Linked DNA regions of Homo sapiens: region 1 is linked to region 2. The links are contacts of gene promoters, found by promoter capture Hi-C in blood cells and fetal thymus (Javierre and others, 2016). All regions are on one chromosome and are shown on one strand. The core of a region is centred on a gene start or on the middle of the fragment in contact, and the rest is flanking DNA. Distances in the headings are between cores, read along the strand shown.

Region 1 (7,016 bases), core at 3,606-6,105, 120 kb before region 2:
TCAGGGAGGAAAACAGCCAACTGGAGAAATGTGGCAGAGGCAGAAGTGAGACAGCAAGTCTTAGAAACACGGCAGTGGCTAGAAAAATGCAGCCCTGGGGCACGGACAGAGGATGGGCTATGTTAGAAATGTGTGGCGTGGCCGAGGGCGGTGGCTCATGCCTGGAATCCCAGCACTTTGGGAGGCCGAGGTGAGAGGATAGCTTGAGCCCAGGAGTTCCTGACCCACCTGGGCAACATGGCGAAACTCTGTCTCTACTAAAAATACAAAAAATTAGCCAGGCATGATGGTGCGTGCTCGTGATCCCAGTTACTCAGGAGGCTGAGGTGGGAGGATGGGATGTGGAGGCTGTAGTGAGCCATAATTTTTTTTTTTTTTTTTTCAGATAGAATCTCACTCTGTCGCTGAGTCTGGAGTGCAGTGGTACAATCTCGACTCACTGCAACCTCCGCCTCCCGCGTTCAAGCAATTCTCCTGCCTCGGCCTCCCAAGTAGCTGGGACCTCAGGCACATGCTGCCACGCCCGGCTAATTTTTTGTATTTTAGTAGAGACAGGGTTTCACCATGTTGCCCAGGCTGGTCTCAAACTCCTGAGCTCAGGCAATCCGCCCGCCTCGGCCCCCCAAAGAGCTAGGATTACAGGCGTGAGCCACCGCGCCCAGCCCAGTGAGCCATGATTGCACCACTGCACTCCAGCCTGGGTGACCGGAGTGAGACCCTGTCAAAAACAAAAACAAACAAAAAAAAATGGAAGAAAGAAAGAAAAAGGAGAGAGGGAGGGAAGGAGGGAGAGAGGGAAGGAAGGAAGGAAGGAAGCAAGGAAGGAAGGAAGGAGGCTGTGGACTACAAAATGGGCCTATGGATAGAGGAAAGAGGTCGCAGGTGACAGATATGTGATGAAAGGAACAGAAACAAGGCATCATGGGGAAGAAAAGTGGCAGCATGAACAGTAAGAGAATCATTACAGGCTGGGTGCAGTAGCTCACGCCTGTAATCCCAGCACTTTGGTAGGCTGAGGCCAGGAGTTTGAGACCAGCCTGGGCAACATGGTGAAACCCTGTCCTTACAAAAAAGTTAAAAATTAGCCGGGATGTGATACCTTGTGCCTGTGGTCCCAGCTACGTGGGAAGCTGCGGTGGAAGGATTGCTTGAGCCTGGGAGATCGAAGCTTCAGTGAACCGTAATTGCACCACTCCCTTCCAGGCTGGAGGACAGAGCAAGACCCCGTCTCTGAAAATAAAAAAGGGCCTGCTTTAGGTGGCTCACACTTCTAATCTCAACACTTTGGGAGGCTAAGCAAGAAAACTGCTTGAACGCAGGAGTTCACGATCAGCCTGGGCAACATAGTGAGACCCCATCTCCACAAAAAATTAAAAAATCAGCCTGGCATGGTGGCCCACGCCTGTAGGAGGTGAGGTGGGAGGATTGACTGAGCCAGGGAGGTTGAGGCTATAGTGAACCATGTTCACACCACTGCACTCCAGCCTGGGCAACAGAGCGAGACCCTGTCTGAAAACAAAAAAGAAGCATCCCGTGGAAGGAATTAGCATCAGAAAGAAAAGACAGTGGGAGATGCAGATGGTTGGTAAGAGAAATGTGGCAGCAAGTACAGAAACAAGGCAGCAGGTAGGGGAAATGATTTGCAGAGTGGCCAGACAGGGCAGTGGGGGCATAGACACAGGACATGTGACATATGTGGTTATAAGCAGAGAAAGGAGGCAGCGAGTGGGAGAAGGGTAGCAGTTACAGGAATTAAACAGGAGGCTGGGTGCGGTGGCTCACGCCTGTAATCCCAGCACTTTGGGACGCCGAGGCGGGCGGATCACAAGGTCGGGAAATGGAGATCATCCTGGCTAACACAGTGAAACCTCGTCTCTACTGAAAATACAAAAAAAAGTAGCCGGGCGTGGTGGCGGGCCGCTGTAGTCCCAGCTACTCGGGAGGCTGAGGCAGGAGAATGGTGTGAACCCAGGAGGCAGAGGTTGCAGTGAGCCGAGATCATGCCACGGCACTCCAGCCTGGGCAACAGAGCCAGACTCCGTCTCAAGAAAAAAAAAAAATTAGCCAGGTGTGGGAGCGGGTGCCTGTAATCCCAGCTACTTGGGAGGCTGAGGCAGGAGAATTGCTTGAACCCGGGAGACAGAGGTTGCAGTGAGCTGAGATCGCACCACTGCACTCCAGCCTGGGCCACAGAGTGAGACTCCATCTCAAAAAAAAGAAAGAAAGAAAGTAAGCAGGGGGCACGGAAAATATTGCAACAGAGATGGAAAAAATGTGTAGCAGGAATAAATCATGCAAATAGAGAAGTAAGGCTAAGGCAGCAGGTGAGAAATTAGCAGCAGATATGGAAACAGAAGATAAGAGAGCTGAGGCTTAAGTCTATAGACATCTGCCTGCAAATGGGAGAACCACGGATGAGTGAAGATATGAGGCTGAAGCCCAGAGCCTCCCTATGGTGCCTCCCCAACCCCATCCCAGGTGTATTTCGGGCGCTGGCTGATCGAGGGAGGCCCTCTGGTGGTGCTCCTGGACGTGGGTGCCTCAGCTTGGGCCCTGGAGCGCTGGAAGGGAGAGCTCTGGGATACCTGCAACATCGGAGTGCCGTGGTACGACCGCGAGGCCAACGACGCTGTCCTCTTTGGCTTTCTGACCACCTGGTTCCTGGGTGAGGTAGGCCCCGTCTGACACATTCCACCCATACCTGAAACTACAATGACCATCAGCCCCTGGGCCAGAGGATGGGCTTCTCCCTGGGCATTCTGGGAGTCATAGGGTCCTTTAATCCAAGGATTAGCTCTGGCCTTTGAGGACATGAACATCCAAGGGCCCAGGCTCTACTCTCGATGCCAACTTCATTTACTCTAGTCTTCCAAGCATAGGGATTCTTGGAATCAGCCTCAAAGTGAGGCTGGCGGGCTTGCCCGAGGAATTCTAGGAGTTGTAGTTCTCTAGTGTGATATTGCTGGACTCAGCTCTCAGATGCTGCCCTGGATGCTCATGAATCCCCAGCCTGACCTGGTTTTGACCCCCTTCTAGGTTTTAAGAGGCTCAAGAAGCTTAGTTTCCAGGCTGGGCACGGTGGCTCATGCCTGTAATCCCAGCACTTTGGGAGGCCGATGGGGGAAGATCACGTGAGGCCAGGAGTTCAAGATGGCCAAACCTCGTCTTTACTAAACATACAAAAAAATTAGCTGGGTGTGGTGGTGGGCACCTGTAATCCCAAATCCCAGCTACTTGGGAGGCTGAGACAGGAGAATTGCTTGAACCTGGGAGGCGGGAATTGCAGTGAGCTGAGATTGCATCACGGCACTCCAGCCTGGGCCACAGAGTGAGACACTGTCTCAAAAAAAAAAAGAAAAAGAAAAAAAAAAAAAGAAGCTTAATTTCTCATGCCCTGGGACAAATAATTGAGGAACTGGCTGCTCCTATGGCATTCTGGGAGTTGTAGTCCCTTTGCCAATGTTGGGTGCAGACAGCGTACCCTTGAGACAAGGGGTCTTTGGAAACTATGTCCAGGACCTGGGAACATGAAAACTTCAGTCTGTCCAATCTAACCCTGCCAGGACTTAGATGGTTGGCCAAAAAATCCTCAGTTCCTGTCAACCCCTGAGGAGGCAGTCACTTGAGCCCAGGAGTTCAAGACCAGCCTGGGCTGCCTCAGGGATTTACAGGTCCCTGTCCGGTTGGGATTGCTGCAGTGGGCCGCTGCCCACTCTGTGCAGTAGTGGTGACAGATTGACCTCTCCCCGAGTCCTTGTCCCTACTGGGGATTGCCGATTCTTTTCCCAACACTCGTGGAGACAGTGGCCCTGTCCCTGTTGCCCACAGTTCCTGGCACAGAGTGAGGAGAAGCCACATGTGGTTGCTCACTTCCATGAGTGGTTGGCAGGCGTTGGACTCTGCCTGTGTCGTGCCCGGCGACTGCCTGTAGCAACCATCTTCACCACCCATGCCACGCTGCTGGGGCGCTACCTGTGTGCCGGTGCCGTGGACTTCTACAACAACCTGGAGAACGTGAGCTGGGACCGTGGCAGATGGGGGACTGCGAGTATGCCAGGAAAACCCAAAGCTCTGGGGGGCCCAAGGGGATGGCACCCCCTCTTCTCCCAGGATCCAGGAGTCCAAGTCCCCAGACCCCTCCTACCTCAGACCCAGGAATCCAGCCCCCAGCACCAATTTCTCTTGGGACCCCAGTGTCTGGACCTCCAGAGTCTTCTCCCCAATCCTTCTAACCGGACTGCTGTCCCCTCCCACCCAGTTCAACGTGGACAAGGAAGCAGGGGAGAGGCAGATCTACCACCGATACTGCATGGAAAGGGCGGCAGCCCACTGCGCTCACGTCTTCACTACTGTGTCCCAGATCACCGCCATCGAGGCACAGCACTTGCTCAAGAGGAAACCAGGTAGGGGCTGGGCTGAAGTCCCCAGACGTGAATGAGGTAGGCAGCTGTCTATGCCAAAGCCAGTTGCTCCTCAGCCCAAGAAGCCCACTGTAAGTTGAAATAGCATAAACCGAAAACGTATTTCGGCTGGGCATGGTGGCTCACACCTGTAATCTCAGCACTTTGAGAGGCCAAGGCAGGAGAACCACTTGAGCCCGGGAATTTGAGACCAGCCTGGGCAACATGGCGAATCCCTGTCTAAAATATTCGCCAGACATGGTGTGTGCCTGTATCCCTAGCTACTCAGGAGGCTGAGGTGGGAGGATTGCTCGAGCCTAGGAGGTCAAGGGTGCAGTGAGCTGTGATCGTGCCATTGCATGATTTGGGTGGCCTGGAGAGACCCTGTCACAGCCTGGGTGACACAGTGAGACCCTGTCTCAAAAAATAAAAAAATGCATTTAATACACCTAACCTACTGAACATCATAGCTTAGGCTAGTATACCTTAAATGTGCCCAGAACACTTTATGTTAGCCTACGACTGGGCAAAATCATCCAATACAAATCTGTTTTATTTTATTTTTATTTATTTATTTATTTTTGAGACGGAGTCTCGCTCTGTCGCCCAGGCTGGAGTGCAGTGGCGCTATCTTGGCTCACTGTAAGCTCCGCCTCCCAGGTTCATGCCATTCTCCTGCCTCAGCCTCCCAAGTAGCTGGGACTATACGCGCCTGCCACCACGCCTGGCTAATTTTAATACAAACCTATTTTATAATAAAGTGTTGAATAGGCTGGGCGCAGTGGCTCACACCTGTAATCCCAACACTTTGGGAGGCCAAGGCGGGCAGATCACGAGGTCAGGAGATCGAGACCAGCCTGGCCAACATGGCGAAACTCCATCTCTACTAAAAATACAAAAATTAGCCGGGCGTGGTGGTGGGTGCCTGTAATCCCAGCTACTCGGGAGGCTGAGGCAGGAGAATCACTTGAACCCAGGAGGCGGAGGTTGCAGTGGGCCGAGATCACACCACTGCACTCCAGCCTGGACAACAGAGCGAGACTCCATCTCAAAAAATTAAAAAAAAAAAGTGTTGAATATCTCATCAAAATCCAAAATTGGACTCATGTGGATGTATGTAACTTTCACACCATCATAAGGTTGAAAAATCATAACTTGGCTGGGCACGGTGGCTTACACCTGTAATCCCAGCACTTTGGAAGGCTGAGGTGGGCAGATCACCTGAGGTCATGTGCTCAAGACCAGCCTGGCCAACATTGTGAGACCCCCTCTCTGCCAAAAATACAAAAATTAGGTGGGCATGGTGGCAGGCGCCTGTAATCCCAGCCACCCAGCTACTCGGGAGGCTGAGGCAGGAGAATCTCTTGAACCCAGGAGGCAGAGGTTGTCGTGAGCCAAGATTGTGCCATTGCACTCCAGCCTGGGCAACAAGAGCGAAACTCTGTCTCGAAAAGAAAAATCATAACTTGGACCATCCTAAGTCCTAAGCTGGGGACCATCAGTTACCATTTTTTTACCTAAAGAATAGAGAACTACAGCTCCCAGAAGGCTGTGGGGGTGGTGACCTGTATTTGAGGCTCTCTGACTATATACTCTGGAGGCTAATGGGAGGTATAATTTCTTTCATATTAATTTCAGATATGATAAAATTCTGTAATTGGCTAATGTAGATTGGTCTTATGAAAGGGAATGGAAGATCAGTGGACTTTGCTTTTGAGAAAGGTTAGGTCAGAACTGGGCATTCTTCCCAGCCCTTAGTATCCGTTCTCAGTGAGTATAAGGTGAGAACTACAACTCCCAGAAGGCCTTTGACTGGTTAGCTCTATATGTTCCAGAACTTTGCCCTAGGCGCTGATGGGGGTTGTAGTTTTTCGTTGATATACTTTAATTTCTATGAGGAGAAGAAATGATTGGGTCCCTGTAAGAAGCTTGGAAGTAGAGGATATATCCTAGGAGAAGCAGGACTTTGGGGATGTTTAATCATTTCCATCTCAGGGTGGGCTAAGAGGAAACAAAAGAAGTACAACTTTCCCAGAATCACCAGTGTGGATCAGATCCCTGTTAGCCATTTGCAGTAGCTGAGGAGACTTATACTTGTGCTTGTGAACCTAAGCAAGTAATATTAGGCAAGAAGGCATCTTGGAGTCAGGGTAGGTGTGTCACCAAGGGAACTGGCCAGGCATGGTGGCTCACACCTGTAATCCCAGCACTTTAGGAGGCCAGGGCAGGAAGACTGCTTGAAGCCAGGAGTTTGAGATCAGCTTGGGTAACATGACAAGACCCCATCACTACAAAAGTAAAATAAATAAATTAGCCGGGTGTGGTAGTGCACGCCTGTAGTGCCAGCTACTCGGGAGGCTGAGGAGGGAGGATTGCTTGAGCCCAGGAGGTCAGGGATGCAATGAGCTGTGATTGTGCCACTGCTCTCCAGCCTGAGCGACAGAGAGAAACCCTGTCTCCAAAAACAAACAAACAAACAAAAAAGGTGGGAGGGGGGACCTCATAGGAACGCTCTTGAAACAAAAAAATTGCAAAAGGCAAAGGGTGTTTTCTTCATTTATTCATTCAACCACAACATTGATCTGAATGAACAAATAAAACATGGGACCCTCACCC
Region 2 (6,393 bases), core at 970-3,469:
TTGTATTCTTAGTAGAGACGGGGTTTTTCACCGTGTTAACCAGGATGGTCTCGATCTCCTGACCTTGTGATCCACCCGCCTCGGCCTCCCAAAGTGCTGGGATTACAGGTGTGAGCCACCGCACCCGGCCGACCAGGCTGGTCTTGAACTCCTGACCTCAGGTGATCTGCCCGCCTTGGCTTCCCAAAGTGCTGGAATTACAGTTGTGATCCACTGTGCCTGGCCTCCTACCCCAATTTAGCCCACAGGCCCCAGCCTAGAGTCTCCCATTTTCTTTTTTTTTTCTTTTCTTTCTTTTTTCTTTTTCTTTCTTTTTTTTTTTTTTTTTTTGAGACGGTGTCTCACTCTGTCACCCAGGCTGGAGTGCAATGGCATGATCTTGGCTCACTGCAACCTCCGCCTCCCGGGTTCAAGCAATTCTCCTGCCTCAGCCTCCTGAGTAGTTGGGAGTACAGGAGCTTGCCACCACGCCTGGCTAGAGTCTCCTATTTTCACATGTGGTTGGTTTCCTCCCCGAGTGCGAGGGTGTCATTGTTCCCATTTCACAGATGGGGAAACAGGCTTGGAAATGAAGCCACTTGACCAAGATAGTCACAGCAGGGTCCAGATTCCTTGCAAATGAGAATGAGGATGTAAGCACTATGAGATCAGGCACTTTGCTGGGCTCAATGCTTTTCAAAAAAAAGTAATTAGGCTGAGCGCGGTGGCTCACGCCTGTAATCCTAGCACTTTGGGACGCTGAGGCAGGTGGATCATGAGGTCAGGAGATCAAGACCATCCTGGCTAACACGGTGAAACCCCGCCTCCACTAAAAATACAAAATAAATTAGCCGGGCGTGGTGGTGGGCACCTGTAGTCCCAGCTACTCGGGAGGCTGAGGCAGGAGAATGGCGTGAACCTGGGAGGCAGAGCTTGCAGTGAGCTGAGATCGTGCCACTGTACTCCAGCCTGGGCGACAGAGCGAGACTCCGTCTCAAAAAAATAATAATAATAATTAATTTAGGCCGGGTGCAGTGGCATGTGCCTGTAGTTCCAGCTACTCAGGAGGCTGAGTCAGGAGAATCGCTTGAACCCGGGAGGCGGAGGTTGCAGTGAGCCGAGATCACGCCACTGCACTCCAGCCTGGCGACAGAGCAAAACACCGCCTCAAAAAAAAAAAAAAAAGAAATTCATTTTCTAAATAGAGACAAGGTCTCGCTATGATGCCCAGGCTGGTGTTGAACTCCTGGTCTCAAGCGATCCTCCTGCCTTGGCCTCCCAAAGTGCTGGGATTACAGGCGTGAGCCATTGCACCCAGCCAGGGCTCACTGCTTTCTTCTCAGTGGCTGCAACAGACAGTGCCTGCACACAGTAGGTGCTCAACAGGTGCATGGTGAATGGCAGTTAAACCGAAAGCTCAGATTCCTTCCCGGTCACAGGCACAAGGCTCCACTCCTGGGTGTCATCTGCTTCAGACTTAGGCAGTAGCTCTGCCCCCACAAGCCGCGATTCTGCCTGGGTGGCACTCTTTGTGCGGGTGGGGGCGCTTCTGCTACAAGTTCCAGGCCCTGGGTGACAGTTCCAGCCCCCCGCTCTCCTCCCCTGCCTACGGATGCATAATCTTGTTCCTCAAAATATACCAAGGAATCATGTCTCTCTCCTGAGGGAGTTGTCCTCAGTCTAGAAGAGAATTCTCACCTGGATCTGAGGTGGAGGTTTGGAACTCTCCATTTCACCCTGCCCTACTGGGACCATCCCCTTTTCTCCCTAGGGGACCTGGACAAACCGTCCCTGGCCCCTTCCAAGCACAGCCATGTTTCCAGACCCCCAGCTCTTTCACGACTCAGGAGTCCTGATCCTAGCTCAGACCTTCTCGGGCACCCAGGAGTCTGGATCCCTAACCCATTCCCTCCAGGGCTTTGGAAATTTGAGTCCCCACCCCTTGCAGGACACAAGCCTCCTCCGTTTAGGACACCAGTGGCTCAGGCCCCCAACCACAGCAGCAAACCCACGGGGGCCCTGGAGTGCAGGCCTCAAGTCCAACTCTCCAAACACTGAGAAGTCCCAACCTTGGTCCTTAGGGGACCTGGGAATTGGGGGGCCCAAGCCCCTCCCTTCAGCTATGGGGGCAGCTGAGCCAGAGGTCAGGCTGTAGTGGGGAGGCCAGAAGGGGCGGGGACAGCCGGGATTGGGAGGGGAGAACAGCAGCGTGGGCGGCTGGCAGAGGCAGGGAAAGACCAGCAGAGAGGAAAGAGAAACTGGGAGAGGGAGGAAGGGAGAAAGTGAGAAGGGAAATCGGAAAGAGAAAAGGGAGGAAACGGCAGAGCCAGAGAGAAAGAGGAAGAGACTGAGTGTGAAGGAGAGAGGACACAGGGGATGACTGAGAGACAGAGAGAGAGAGAGAGAGAGAATGAGACAGAGACTTAAGGAAGAGACCCTGTGAGTCTGACAATAAAAGATTTGGACAGAAACAGAAAGATTGGAGAGAGAGAGAGAGGGAGAGAATGAGTGAGAGAGAGACTGGAAGAGACAGAGATCAGAGGGAGACACAGAAAGTGAGAGTGGGGAGAGAGGTAGTGTAAAAGGAAGAGAGAGAGAGAGAGACCGTAAGAGACAGGAGACAAAGAGACAAAAAGTGTGAGTGAGCAGGTGAGGAGAGAGATTGAGAACTATGAGAGACAGCAGCTAAGAGACAAAGGAGGCGGGAGACTGCCTAGGTGCCGCAGCACCCACACCGTCCTCTTGCCCCCCCGTCACTGGGACCCCAGAGCTGGGTAAGTTCCCTGGCTGGGCTGGGAGGGGCTCTCTGGGTTCACATTCCTGGTGCCGCAGGGCTTGGCTTGGGGAGTTGGCAGGGGTGGTTTGGGGGTGCATGTGGGAGGGCGGGAGACAGGTAGCCTGGGGCAGCCGGAAGGAGGCAGGGAATGGGGAGTCCCTAAGCACAGAGAGGGTCAAATTCCTGGCCTGAGTGCAGTGGGCAGGAATAAAGAAGCCCCTATTCTCTGGCCTGGGCTGCAGACAGCTGCCCCCTCCCGCAGCTGCCAGGGCCGCCTACCTCTCTTGGCACCACTCTTGGTATGTGGTCACGGGCCATGGCCTCCCCCAGCCCCCCAAGTCCCGAAACAACAGGCTCTTTCTCTGCAGCCTCCTCCGACCTCCAAGCCCCTGACCCCATCTCTGTCTCACACCCGTCACTGCAGAGACACAGCCCCTTTCTTTCTCTCCCCCAGCCCTTGATGGAGGGGAGCCGACCTCGCAGCAGCCTGAGCCTGGCCAGCAGCGCCTCCACCATCTCCTCGCTCAGCAGCCTGAGCCCCAAGGTTTGAGCTTCCTGGCGGGGATGGGGAGGAAGGTGGGGCTCTGGGCCGCCCATCCTTCTGTTTCCCCAAGGACTCTGGTTGTTAAGGACAAAGATCCTTAGCAACGGGGTCTGCCAGACATAGTAAGGTCCCAAATTGCCTACACACCGCAGCTAGGAATTCAGAGGCACTCCCAGCTCTGTCCCCACCCTTTGTATTTTCCTAATTCTAAACCAGAGTAACAACCTCCCTTGACCCTGGTTGCTAAGATAAAGCCGCTCCCCAGCCATGAGGCCCCTCGAGTTCTGAGAAGTAGTGGCTGCTCTTGATTAGTGCCAGAACTTGCTGTCCTATCTCTCGCCATCCAATCTACCCACTAATGAAATCCTATAAGGAGAGACCCTTCTCTGACAATAAGACCCAAGGGGCCTCCAGATACTTGCATCCCAAATCGGCATCCCAGCCAAAAGCTTAGGGAGACACTCATTTCTTTTTCCTCCTGCCGTTCCACACATATTGTTTCTCAAGTTCAGAGCCCAGAGATCTGATCTCAGCCTTGGTCAGTACCACCGCTTCCAAGGAAGGGCATATTGTCGGGACCTGGCTAAGGATGCCTGAGATATCTGTGGGCATCAGGAGATGAGGCTCCATCCGGGCAGGATGGAGGGATTTGAGGCTTCCTCTCCTTGTACTTGGTTGCTAAGGGGTGTGACCGCAGGGCACCAGGGCATCCTTTGATTCACTGGAGACTCAGCGTGAGAGTTCCCCCTGATTATGGGGCCCTCCCAGCCCATAGTCCCAGTTCAGATCCCAAAGGACCTACTACAGCTCTGGCTCTGGTGGCCAAGGGCATCTGCTTCTTGGCAGTGGATGCTTGATCCCCAAATTGCTTCCCTACAGCCTCTTCCTTGCCTCTGAACACCTCCCTCTGCCCATCAAAAAAAGAGTCTCGGCCCGGCGCAGTGGCTCACGCCTATAATCCCAGCACTTTAAGAGGCTGAGGCGGGTGGATCACCTGAGGTCAGGAGTTCAAGAGCAGCCTGACTGACATGGCGAAACCGCGTCTCTGCTAAAAATACAAAAATTAGCCAGGCGTGGTGGCACGTGCCTGCAATCTCAGCTACTCAGGAGGCTGAGGCAGGAGAATCACTTGAACCCGAGAGGCAGGGGTTGCAGTGAGCCAAGATGGTGCCAGTGTGCTCCAGCCTGGGGGACAGAGCGAGACTCTGTCTCAAAAGAAAAAGAAAAAAAGAGTCTCTCCCAGCCTGGGCAACAAAGTGAGACCCCCGTCCCCTACAAAAAGTAAAAAAATTAGCTGGGCATGGTGGGACATGCCTGTGGTCCCAGCTACATGGGAGGCTGAGGCTGGAGGATCACCTGAGTCCAGGAGGTAAAGGCTGCAGTGTTTAGGCTACTGCACTCCAAAGAGCCTGTCAAAAAAAAAAGAGTCTCTTAACTCTGCAATAAGAACACCTCCCAATTCTGATCTCCAACTTCAGCCCCCACCTTGACCCTTTTCTTTCTTTCTTTTTTTTTTTTTCTTTGAGACGGAGTCTCACTCTGTCTCCCGGGCTGGAGTGCAGTGGTGCGATCTCGGCTCACTGCAAGCTCCTCCTCCCGGGTTCTCGCCATTCTCCTGCCTCAGCCTCCCGAGTAGCTGGGACTACAGGCGCCCGCCACCACGCCCGGCTAATTTTTTGTATTTTTAGTAGAGACGGGGTTTCACCGTGTTAGCCAGGATGGTCTCGATCTCCTGACCTCGTGATCCACCCGTCTCAGCCTCCGAAAGTGCTGGGATTACAGGTGTGAGCCACTGCGCCCGGCTGGTCCTTGACCCATTTCTCAGGGCAGCCAAGCGAGAGCCTACGGTTGCCTGTGTCCACCCTCACCCCCTCCCAGGACCATCCTAGGCTCTCCCTGTTCACTTCTGTCCCCTTCTCTCCTCAGAAGCCCACCCGGGCAGTAAACAAGATCCACGCCTTTGGGAAGAGAGGCAATGCGCTCAGGAGGGATCCCAACCTTCCCGTGCACATCCGAGGCTGGCTTCATAAGCAGGTGGGGTCAGTAGGAGAAGGAAAAGGACACTGAAGTCTGTGCCCCGGCTGTCCTCTGTCTCTCTCCTTGCAAGTCCCCAAATAGGCTTTCTTTTTCTTGCTATCACTGCCCCTCCCCTTAGTCCGTCATTGTTTGTTTGTTTGTTTATTTATTTATTTTTAAGACAGAGTCTCTTTCTGTCGCCCAGGCTGGAGGGCAGTGGTATGATCTCGGCTCAATGCAACCTCTGGCCTCCAGTTCAAGCAATTCTCGTGCCTCAGCCTCCCGAGTAGCTGGGCTTACAGGCATGCACCATCATGCCTAGCTAATATTTGTATTTTTAGTAGAGATGGGGTTTTATCATGTTGGCCAGGGCGGTCTGAAACTCCCGACCTCAAGTGATCCACCCGCCTCGGCTCCCTAAAATGCTGGGATTACAGGCGTGAGCCACCGTGCCTGGCCCATTCATTCATTCTTTCTTGACTACTTCTTGAACACTTACAGTGTTCCCAATCCCAGGGCACACACCATGCAAATAACACAAAAGTATTTATATTACATTCCAGATTGGGTGGAGCATGGGTGGATAATAAATTAGTAAATAAATAAATGGACTTGGTCATTTCAGATCGCAGGATGGGCTATGAAGAAGTAACATAGGGTCCAGGTTCAGTGGTGTAACCCCAGCATTTTGGGAGGCCAAGACGGGAAGATCGCTTGAGCTTAGGAATTCTAGACCAGCCTGGGCAACATGAAGAAACCTCATCTCAACAACAAATACACACACACACAAAACCTAGCTGAGCGTGGTGGTGTGCGCCTATAGTCCCAGCTACTCGGGAGGCTAAGGCAGGAGGATTGCTGAAGCCCAGGAGGCTGAGGCTGCAGTGAACTGTGTTCATGTCACTGCACACCAGCCTGGGTGACAGAGTGAGACCCTGTCTCAAAAACAAAAACAAAAAAACGGAATATGATGTGCTTGAACGTGGCTGAGAGAGGAGAACTTCAATTTGACATTTGGTCAGGGAAAATTATCTCTGAGGTGACATTTGAGCTGGCTGAGCATAGTGGGTCATGCCGG

The links. Contacts are between HindIII fragments. The CHiCAGO score rates a contact against its expected background, and 5 or more counts as called.
Region 1: a contact is called between a fragment that was not itself captured here and the fragment with the promoter of PLEKHA4 in region 2, in 4 of 17 cell types (erythroblasts, M1 macrophages, monocytes and 1 more). The highest score is 6.7, in erythroblasts.

What each region holds. Positions count from the first base shown.
Region 1 is chr19:48,982,848-48,989,863 of GRCh38, reverse strand. It overlaps GYS1 (glycogen synthase 1), which reads left to right. Exons shown (of 16, transcript NM_002103.5): 3 at 2,479-2,670; 4 at 3,829-4,014; 5 at 4,259-4,403. Among named protein-coding and RNA genes, the nearest start is that of GYS1, 7.0 kb to the left of the region's middle. RefSeq lists an enhancer at 1-99 and a silencer at 1,230-1,412. The HindIII fragment of the contact is 2,950 bases long and covers 3,381-6,330 here.
Region 2 is chr19:48,864,443-48,870,835 of GRCh38, reverse strand. It overlaps PLEKHA4 (pleckstrin homology domain containing A4), which reads left to right and starts at 2,219. Exons shown (of 20, transcript NM_020904.3): 1 at 2,219-2,753; 2 at 3,210-3,299; 3 at 5,226-5,333. The coding sequence starts at 3,216. The HindIII fragment of the contact is 18,917 bases long and covers 1-3,750 here.